Regions from separate parts of the Homo sapiens genome. Here regions 1 and 2 are each linked to region 3. The links are contacts of gene promoters, found by promoter capture Hi-C in blood cells and fetal thymus (Javierre and others, 2016). All regions are on one chromosome and are shown on one strand. Each heading gives the region's core, a stretch centred on a gene start or on the middle of the fragment in contact. The rest is flanking DNA. Distances are from core to core; before and after follow the strand shown. Region 1 has its middle 9.1 kb from the start of FABP6-AS1. Region 2 has its middle 21 kb from the start of PWWP2A. Region 3 holds the start of C1QTNF2 (C1q and TNF related 2).

Region 1 (2,929 bases), core at 100-2,599, 150 kb before region 3:
GGCTCACTGTAGCCTTCCACTCCTACGCTCAAGTGATCTTCCCACCTCAGTCTCCTGACTAGCTGGGACTACAGACACATGCCACCATGCCCAGTTGATTTACTTTATTTTATTTTTTGTAGAGATGGGGTCTCCCTATGTTGCCCAGGCTCATCTCAAACTCCTGGGCTCAAGCAAATCTCCCACCTCAGGCTCCCAAAGAGGAGGGATTACAGGCATGAGCCTCTGTGCCTGGCCTATTTATTTATTTTAGAGTCAAGTCTTGCTCTGTCACCCAGGAGGTAGTGCAGTGGCACAAACATAGCTCACTGCAGCCTTGAACTCCTGGGCTCAAACGATCCTTCTTTTAGCCCCTCGAGTAGCAGGGGGACTACGGACACAGGCCACCATGCCTAGCTTAGGTTTTCTGTTTGTTTTTTTTAGGGACAAGTTCTTGCTGTGTTGCCCAGGCTGGTCTCCAATTCCTGGCCTCTGGCCTCCTGAGTCACTGAGACTACAGGTGGCAGCCACCACCCCTGGCTGAACTCACTTAACATTAGTAACATCCCCTTCAGATAGGCACCATTATTATCCAGATTTTGCAGATGAGAAAACTGAGACACAAAAAAATAAATAAGGTGCCCAAGGCCACAGAACCAGTAAGTGACAGAGCTGGGATTCAAACCTAGGCAGCCTGTGCCTAGAGTCTCTGTCTCTTTCGTGTCTCATTGTGGATAAACAAAGCGCCAACTGGATTTTCTTATCTTAGTCTTTGACTTTTTTTTTTTTTTTTTGAGATGGAGTCTCACTCTGTCTCCTAGGCTGGAGTGCAAAGGCGCGATCTCAGCTCACTGCAACCTCTGCCTCCCGAGTACAAGCAGTTCTCCTGCCTCAGCCTCCTGAGTAGCTGGGATTACAGGCACCCGCCACCATGCCTGGCTAATTTTTGTATTTTTAGTAGAGACGGGGTTTCGCCATGTTGGTTAGGGTGGTCTAGAACTCTTGACTTCAGGTGATCCTCCCACCTCAGCCTCCCAAAGTGTTGGGATTACGGGCATGAGCCACTGCGCCTGGCCTTTTTTTTTTTTTTATGAGTTGGGGTCTCATTCTGTCACCCAGGCTGGATTGTAGTGGCACAATCATAGCTCACTGTAGCCTCAAACTCCTGGACTCAAGTGATCCTCCCACCTCAGCCTCCTCAGTAGCTAGGACTACAGGCGCAAGCCACCATGCCTAGCTAATTGTTTTTTAATTTTTTTAGAGCCAGGGTCTTACTATGTAGGCCACACTGATCTCAAACTCCTGGTCTTTGATTCTTGAGAGTAAAACTAGAAGTATCATCATGGGAAAATATTGTTCTCAGAGGCTCCAGTTAGCTCTGACATTCTAGGGATCGATGCCAACTAGTATTTCAGATTTTAGTGGAGGAAAGAGGAAGGGGAGTTTAATCAAGGAATTGATAACTCTGATAGTTCACTTACTCTATGCAAGACCTGTAAGGTCCTGGGGATGGAGAGAATAGGAGGGTGCCCAGGGCTCCTCCTCACCCATGGACTCAAGAACCTGTATTCCCACCCCCTTCTCCAGGCATTACTCTGAGAATAATGGTAGCTGGCTGAGGCAGGGGCCAGAGTTCAGGTGGAAAGCTGGGGTGGCCCAGGGGAATTAGCCTTGGGCTCTTCTTTATCTCTATTGGGGTATAGTTGTTCTATTGGTTCTATTGCCTCATAAAACTTCACTGTGATATGGAGGCAGTTTGAGTTCATTCACCCCTCCGGGGAGGTTCTCAATGAGGGTCTGAACAAATAGGTAAACCCAGGAGAAGAGGGGAAGAGGCGGGCATGGGTGGATGGAAGGTGGAGGGTCAGATGTACACTTAGACTCTAGGGAAGGGGTGGGAGCATGGCTGAGTCAGTCAGCTGAGTGCCAATGTCATCCTTTCCCATAGCCCCACCACTCCCATCCTGCCTTGGACACTGACCTTGGAAGAGTAGCAACTAAGGAAAAAAACAGCTCTGACCGTGCAGAAGGAAATCAATGGGAAAGGGAGTTAAGCGGGGGCCTGGAGAAGCCACTTGGTCCTTCTTGCCCACATCCCCTGGCCTAGAGCTTCTCAAGGCTGCTGAGCAGTACAATCACTGGGGAGTTTGTCAAAATGCAGATTCTAGGGCCCCACCCCAGACCTACCAAACCAGAATTTTGGGGGGTCAGGTCACAGGGATTTCTATTTTTCACAAGCCCTCCCTTCCTACATCCCCAGTAGCGTATGAACACAGCCTTACAGCCTATTCCACATAGATCTGAACAAATAAAGTGAAATCAACACTATCCCAGTACCCACCAGGAATACATACAGAAGGAAAAATGAAATGCAGCTTGAGGCCTGGAAGGGATCACAATGTAGTTGGGAGATAAAAGACTCACTTTGTGAAGGGTTAAATTAATGCTGCAATATATAAACAGTAGTTCAAAATAGGCAGCTAGGCTGGACGAATTGCCAGTGAGTGAGAATAACAGTAGATATCCTTCAACAATCACCTGTGAAATGCTAGATCCTGTACTAAGCACTTTTGCTATGTACTTTCATTTAATCTCATTAAAACTCTGGAAGATCGGTATTTTTTTCCCCATATAATAATGAATGAGGCCAGGTGATGGCTCACACCTGTAATCCCAGGACTTTGGGAGGCCAAGGCAGAAGGATCGCTTGAGTCCAGGAGTTTGTGACAAGCCTGGGTAACAAGTGAGGCCTCGTCTCTACTAAAAGTTAAAAAATTAGCCGTGCGTGGTGGAGCATGCCTGAGGTCCCTGCCACTTGGGAGGCTGAGGCAGGAAGATCTCTTGAGCCTGTGAGGCTGAGGCTGATTGTGCCACTGCACTCCACCCTGGGTGACAGAGTGAGACCCTGCCTAATAATAATAATAATTATTATTAATAATAAATAAGGCTT
Region 2 (3,357 bases), core at 260-2,759, 230 kb before region 3:
ATTTTCCCTTCTGATGGGAAATGTCAGGAAGCTCTGGTGCTTGAATCCAGCCCATAGAGAAAAACTCCAGTGCCCCATATCCAGTGGAGGCCACGGCTATATATACTAGGGCCACTCCAAGGCTTCATCTGCATCTTCCAGGCAGTGCTCAAGGCCCCGGGAGACCAGGGTCTGCGGTGGAGTTACCACTCCACTTCCTCCTCTTTCCCACAGGACAGAGGATTTAGGACTGAGCTTACCATGTCTGAGTTAAAATGTATGTATTTATTTATTCTGAAACAAGGTTTTGCTTTGTTGCCTAGGCTAATTTTTTAATTTTTTTCTGTAGAGATGGGGTCTTACAGCCGGGCACGGTGGCTCACGCCTATGATCCCAGCACTTTGGGAGGCCGAGGTGGGTGGATCATTTGAGGTCAGGACTTGGAGACCAGCCTGACCAACATGGTGAAACCCTATCTCTACTAAAAATAGAAAAATTTAGCCAGTCGTGGTGGCGCATGCCTGTAGTCCCAGCTACTCAGGAGGCTGAGGCAGGAGAATCCCTTGAACCTGGGAGGCAGAGGTTGCAGTGAGCCGAGATTGCGCCACTGCACTCCAGCCTGGGCAACAGAGTGAGACTGTCTCAAAAACAAACAAACGAAGAGATGGGGTCTCAGTATGTTGCTCAGGCTGCTCTCAAATTCTTGGGTTCAAGCAATCCTTCTGCCTCAGTCTCCCAAAGTGTTGGGATTACAGGCATGAGCCATTACACACGACCTCAGTTGATTTCTGACTTGTCCACCTCCTGGCTCACTTTCAGAAGCTCAGCCCTCAGAGAAATCATGCCAGATTTCTTTTTTTTGAAACAGTGTCTCACTCTATTGCCCAGGCTGGAATGCAGCAGCATGATCATAGCTTCCCTAATTCCCCATCTTCCAAATCTGCAACTTCAGGATTTGAATTTGGAGGTGGAGAAGATTAGTACTGAGCATGTTTCCTCTTAGGCATTAGAAGTCAGGCATGGGCTGGGCGCAGTGGCTCACACCTGTAATCCCAGCACTTTGGGAGGCCAAGGCGGGTGGATCACTTGAGGTCAGGAGTTCGAGACCAGCCTGGCCAACATGGAAACCCCATCTCTACTAAAAATACAATAATTAGCAGGGCGTGGTGGCAGATGCCTGTAATCCCAGCTACTCAGAAGGCTGAGGCAGGAGAATCGCTTGAACCTGGGAGGCGGAGGTTGCAGTGAGCCAAGATTGCGCCATTGCACTCTAGCCTGGGCAACAGAGTGACTCTGTAACAAAAAAATAAAAAAAGAAAGAAAAGAGAAGTGACTTGCCCAAGGTAATACAGCCAGTAATGGCTGAGCCAAGGCTGCAAACCTGATTTGTCAGACTCCATAGCTTAGAACTGTGATCTAGTTTCTTCAGGGTCATGTCATAACTAGTAAGTGATGGAGCCAAATTCCAACTGAAACAAAAAGGAGAGACCATGCTCTCCCCCAGGAAATGCTAGAGATTATAAATGACAAAAATAGGCCGGGCGCAGTGACTCACACCTGTAATCCCAGCACTTTGGGAGGCTGAGGTGGGTGGATCACCTGAGATCAGGAGTTCGAGACCAGCCTGGCCAACATGGTGAAACCTCGTCTCTACTAAGAACACGAACAGATGTGGTGGTGGGCACCTGTAATACCAGCTACTCGGGGAGGCTGAGGCAGGAGCATTGCTTGAACCTGGGAGGCAGAGGTTACAGTGAGCCAAGATCATGCCATTGTATTCCAGCCTGGGCAACAACAGTGAAATTCCATCTCAGTAGTTCAAAGGAAACTTCCTGAGAAGAGAATTTAATTTGAAAATATCTCCGTTCTACCTGGCATGTGATATAAGAAACATTTGGCAGTCTGCCGTGGGTCAGGATTTCTTTTTTTTTTTAATTATTTTTTTAAATTATACTTTAAGTTTTAGGGTACATGTGCACAATGTGCAGGTTTGTTACATATGTATACATGTGCCATGTTGGTGTGCTGCACCCATTAACTCGTCATTTAACATTAGGTATATCTCCTAATGCTATCCCTCCCCGCTCCCCCCACCCCACAACAGGCCCCGGTGTGTGATATTCCCCTTCCTGTGTCCATGTGTTCTCATTGTTCAATTCCCACCTATGAGTGAGAACATGCGGTGTTTGGTTTTTTGTCCTTGTGATAGTTTGCTGAGAATGATGGTTTCCAGCTTCATCCATGTCCCTACAAAGGACATGAACTCATCATTTTTTATGGATACATAGTATTCTATGATTTCTATAATAAATCATTCCCATTGCCAATCTTACCAAAAGAATATTCTATTGTTATACAAAAAAGCTAACAAAAATAACTACCATGTTCGGGATGTTTACTACATGGCAAGGACTACATTAATAAGCATTTCTTGTATATTAATATCATTCCATCTTCATGATAGCCCTATGGGTAGATATTATTATTTTCATTCTATACGTTAAGAAATTGAGTCTCAGGCCGAGCACAGTGGCTCACGCCTGTAATCCCAGCACTTTGGGAGGCCGAGGCGGGTGGATCACGAGGTCAAGAGATCGAGACCAGCCTGGACAACATGGTGAAACTCTGTCTCTGCTAAAAATACAGAAAATTAGCTGGGTATAGTGGCAGGCACCTGTCATCCCAGATACTGGGGAGGCTGAGGCAGGAGAGTCATTTGAACCTGGGAGGTGGAGGTTGCAGTGAGCCAAGATCGCACCACTGCACTCCAGCCCCGGTGACAGAGTGAGACTCTGTTTCAAAAAAAAGAAAGAAATTGAGTCTCAAAGAGGTTAAATAACTTGCTCAAGGTCACCCAGATGGAGGGTGGTAGAGCCAGAGTTCAAAATGACAATGCTATTGTTTTCATCCCTGGCTAAGCATGAGAAAAATGAAGATTACCAGGCCCTACTTAAAGCCACCAACTTGAGATTTCCCAGGGATGTGGCCCTGGGATGTATTGAAAAGTCTCCACAGGTGACCTGAAGCCCACCAAAAATTGAAGACCTAGCCCCCGTTAGGCCTTAACCCAAAACTCACCCTTATAACTGCTCACCTGCCTGGACCCAGTACTAATCATATTAGTCGCTGTTAGAGAAGAATGTCTGTTTGGTAAAACCACTGATGGCCTTTGTGAAGGCTTTGGTTTAGTGATTAGCTTTCAAGATGCAAACTTTGTCCTTGGAATAGTGGAAAACAGCACGTAGGCTTAGAAATTCTTTTTTTTTTTTTTTGAGATGGAGTTTCACTCTTGTCACCCAGGCTGGAGTGCAATGGTGAGATCGCAGCTCACTGCAACTTCTGCCTCTTGGGTTCCCTGGCCTCAGCTTCCCAAGTAGC
Region 3 (3,253 bases), core at 122-2,621:
CATTTAAAACAAAAGGTAAACCTAAGGTTTAAGGATTGGAAGACTGGTAAGTGTGGTATCCCTGCTAGGAGATGGGGAGAAGTCAGACATTTGGGAGGAAACAAATTCTGCAGTGAATCTGATGTGTTACAATGAAGGGCTGTAGTGATGCTTGGAAATGTGTGGAGAGTTTGAGGATCGGGCAGTTGAAAGCAGGAGTAATTGATATAATTACTCCAGATGACAGAATAAATTAGAGAATGGTGCAGAGGGAGGGCAAAAATAAGGATGTGAGAGGACAGATTTTTAACAGTGCTAACTGAGCACCAGCCTTGGATTGACCTATGTAAGACATTGTCTTTCTATTACTGCTACTTCAGCATGGTGGAAACACAGGGTCTCTGAGAGATGGCCAGTCTAAGGAAGGGACCTCTGCAGGCTTCCAAGCAGGGCAATTTTGTGGTCAAGGAGCAGAGGAGGATCACAATGAGGTAATGCAAGGGACTCATGGTGTCAGAGGAGAGACCTGGGCTGGGAGACTATTAGGGCCCACTGCAATTATTTAGCTGAAAAGCGAGGTCCTAGAATGGGGCAGCAGCAGTGGGGATGGAGAAATAAGGACAAAGCATATTAAGACAAGTAGTTTAGGTGGGGAAGGAGAGTGAAGAGAGTCATGAGGCATTGAGTACAAATCTCTGCCTGCCGTTCAATACCTTTTGAGCTCAGTTTGCCAGTCTGTATCATATATTTAAATAAATGTGAAGGTTAAGTGAAATAATGCATTCAGTAAATGTTAACTGTGATTGTTAGCTCGGGTATTGGACTCAGATTTACCAGACTTCAAGTCCCTTTTTTATCAATTACTAGCTGTGCAACCCTGTCCAAGTCATTAATGTCTCTGAGCCCAGTTCCTCTTTTGTAGACGGGGATAATCTGTTGTCATGAAAATGAAAGAGCACAAGTAAAGTGCTAGCAGGACTTGGCACAAAGTAGGCGCTCAATAAATGGCAGAGCTACGGGTGTTACTATTGTAACGGGTAAACCACTGGGCACAGAGCCTGGCACACAGTAAGGACTCAAAACATGTTAATTTGTATTATAATACGAAGGTAGAAGTCGAGAGGCAGGAATGCAGGAGCTGCCCAGCCCGCAATAAAGGCGCGCTGGCAGCTCTCCCACCTTCCGCATCCCGCCCCGCCCGCAGCAGTGCGAGTCCTCCTCCTCCTCCTCCCCGCGCGCACTTGCCGCCCCCGCCCGACCGCGGTGCGGGACACTCACCCTCGCGGCTGCCCGCCACGTCCAGGGGCGTCCGGAGCAAAGAAGCTCTCGGCGGGGCTCCGCGTCCCGGCTTTCCTCAGCGGCAGCAGCCGGGCAGAGCGTCGGCCCCAGGCATAGTTTTCCCATCCCGTCATGGGCGGGAGAGCCTTCCTCCCGGTCACGTGGGCTGGCCCGCAGCGCAGCATTCTCTTTTTAGCAGCTGTTTGGAAAAAACTTGCAGTGCTGATGACAACTCGGGTGTGTCGATGCATCTCTGCGTTTGTAGAGCTTGTTAGCGTATTTGGAGGTTTTGTGCGCCAGAGTGATCAGAGTGATTGTTTCCCACGCGTTTGCAAAGGTGTGCATGTACTTGAGTGTGATGATAAATCATAGGGATGTGTTTAGTTGTGTGTGTGCGTACGTGCGTTTATCCAAATTTTCATCAGGGCTGTTCGGTGTATGTACACATGCATGCACATGTCCAAGATGGCAGCTTGGTGTAAAACTGGAGGGCACATCAGTGGTTGGATGTACACGATAGTGGCTAGACATCTGTATGTGGGGTGCATGTTTAAATGTGTGTGTGACTGTGCAGGGGCTCATTCTGTGTGTTGGTTTGACATCTGTATGTGGGGTGTATGTTTAAATGTGTGTATGACTGTGCAGTGGCTCATTCTATGTGTTGATTTCTATGCATGCCTTGGTGTGGATTTTGTCCGGATGTGAGTGTGCACATACACACTAGTGTGGGTGAGTTCCCCTGTGTACCAGCTCTCATTTCTCTTCTCCCCAGAAGGTGAGGATTCACTGGTCTCACTCACTCTGGCCCAGCCTCAAGTCATTGAGAGACTTATGGAGGGTCTCAGCTCCCAGGATAGGCAAAGCAATCCTATTTGGGAATCAAGCAGGCACTGGAGGAAAGGAAATCCTCCAAGGCCTGGCTTTTGCTTCTCCCTGTTCCTTCCACTGCTCTCTTCCACTAGCTACCCATATTTCACTCTGCACAGCCAGAGCATCTGGTTAACAGCTGGTAAGTGACACAAAATTTACAGTCAGAATTTTAATACAGATATGCATTTGAATTCTAATGTTGTATCCACCACCTTAATCAAGTCAGATAATCTCACAGATGGTGTTTTATTTTCTAAAAAAAATGGGAGAATAATATTACCTGCACTGCCTTTACCCCAAAGTTGGGACACTAACTCATAAAGATGTTTGGTAAGCCATTGAACTATGTAGGGAATTATTACTAATATCACATAAATACTATTTGAGAAAGAAAGTTTGTAGGCTTAACAAACATTCATTCAACAAATATTTAATAAGCATCCATTGTGTGTCAGTCCCCAAGCAAGGTGCTGGGGACATAGAGGGAAACAAATAGGCTTGATGCCTACCCTCATGAAACTTAGAGTCCTCCAGCTGGGGATGACACAAGTGGTTACAAGTGAAATGAGTGTTATAGAAAAGAAAAGCTTAAAGTATAAACTGGGCAGTCAGGGGAAGGCCTGGGAAACTGATGTTTCAGGTGAACCCTGAGAGATGACTGAGACTTGTCTGAATGTAGGGGAAGTGTGAGCTCAAAAAATGAAGGAATGATAACATGTGGAGTGGAGTTTAGGGTGTTGATACACAGATGGCTGGAAAGGAAACTTCCATCCACCGCCTCTTGGGTCAGATGTGTCAGCAATTGGAAAGGTGAGGAAACTGCTTAGAATGCCTGGAGGCCATTCAGAATCTAAAGGGCTCAGGAAAGCCCCTCTCCTAGAGTAGAGTGGTAATATCTGTGTGTTATCCATGTGGCTCCATCATGACAGAGGTTGAAATCACTGGCATGCTCTCATTGGTTAAAAAAAAAAGGTTAATGAAAAGTTAAGAAAGGCAGTGCTGCTATACCTGGTAGTGTGAAACATTTAATAAACACTACTGATTGAATGAATGGGGGCACATGTTTTTCCAACTTTTGAAGGATACCTGGAACCTAGGTTTCCTGAAGCCTAGCAGAGTTCCTGGG

The links. Contacts are between HindIII fragments. The CHiCAGO score rates a contact against its expected background, and 5 or more counts as called.
Region 1: a fragment that was not itself captured here is called in contact with the fragment with the promoter of C1QTNF2 in region 3 in 2 of 17 cell types (neutrophils and M1 macrophages); the score reaches 13.2 in neutrophils.
Region 2: a fragment that was not itself captured here is called in contact with the fragment with the promoter of C1QTNF2 in region 3 in 1 of 17 cell types (neutrophils); the score reaches 6.1 in neutrophils.

What each region holds. Positions count from the first base shown.
Region 1 is chr5:160,217,706-160,220,634 of GRCh38, forward strand. It overlaps a transcript of FABP6 not described here. Among named protein-coding and RNA genes, the nearest start is that of FABP6-AS1, 9.1 kb to the left of the region's middle. The HindIII fragment of the contact is 5,834 bases long and covers 1-2,929 here.
Region 2 is chr5:160,139,147-160,142,503 of GRCh38, forward strand. No RefSeq gene overlaps it. Among named protein-coding and RNA genes, the nearest start is that of PWWP2A, 21 kb to the left of the region's middle. The HindIII fragment of the contact is 6,590 bases long and covers 1-3,357 here.
Region 3 is chr5:160,369,255-160,372,507 of GRCh38, forward strand. C1QTNF2 (C1q and TNF related 2) reads right to left here and starts at 1,372. Exons shown (of 3, transcript NM_031908.6): 1 at 1,258-1,372. The HindIII fragment of the contact is 8,188 bases long and covers 1-2,712 here.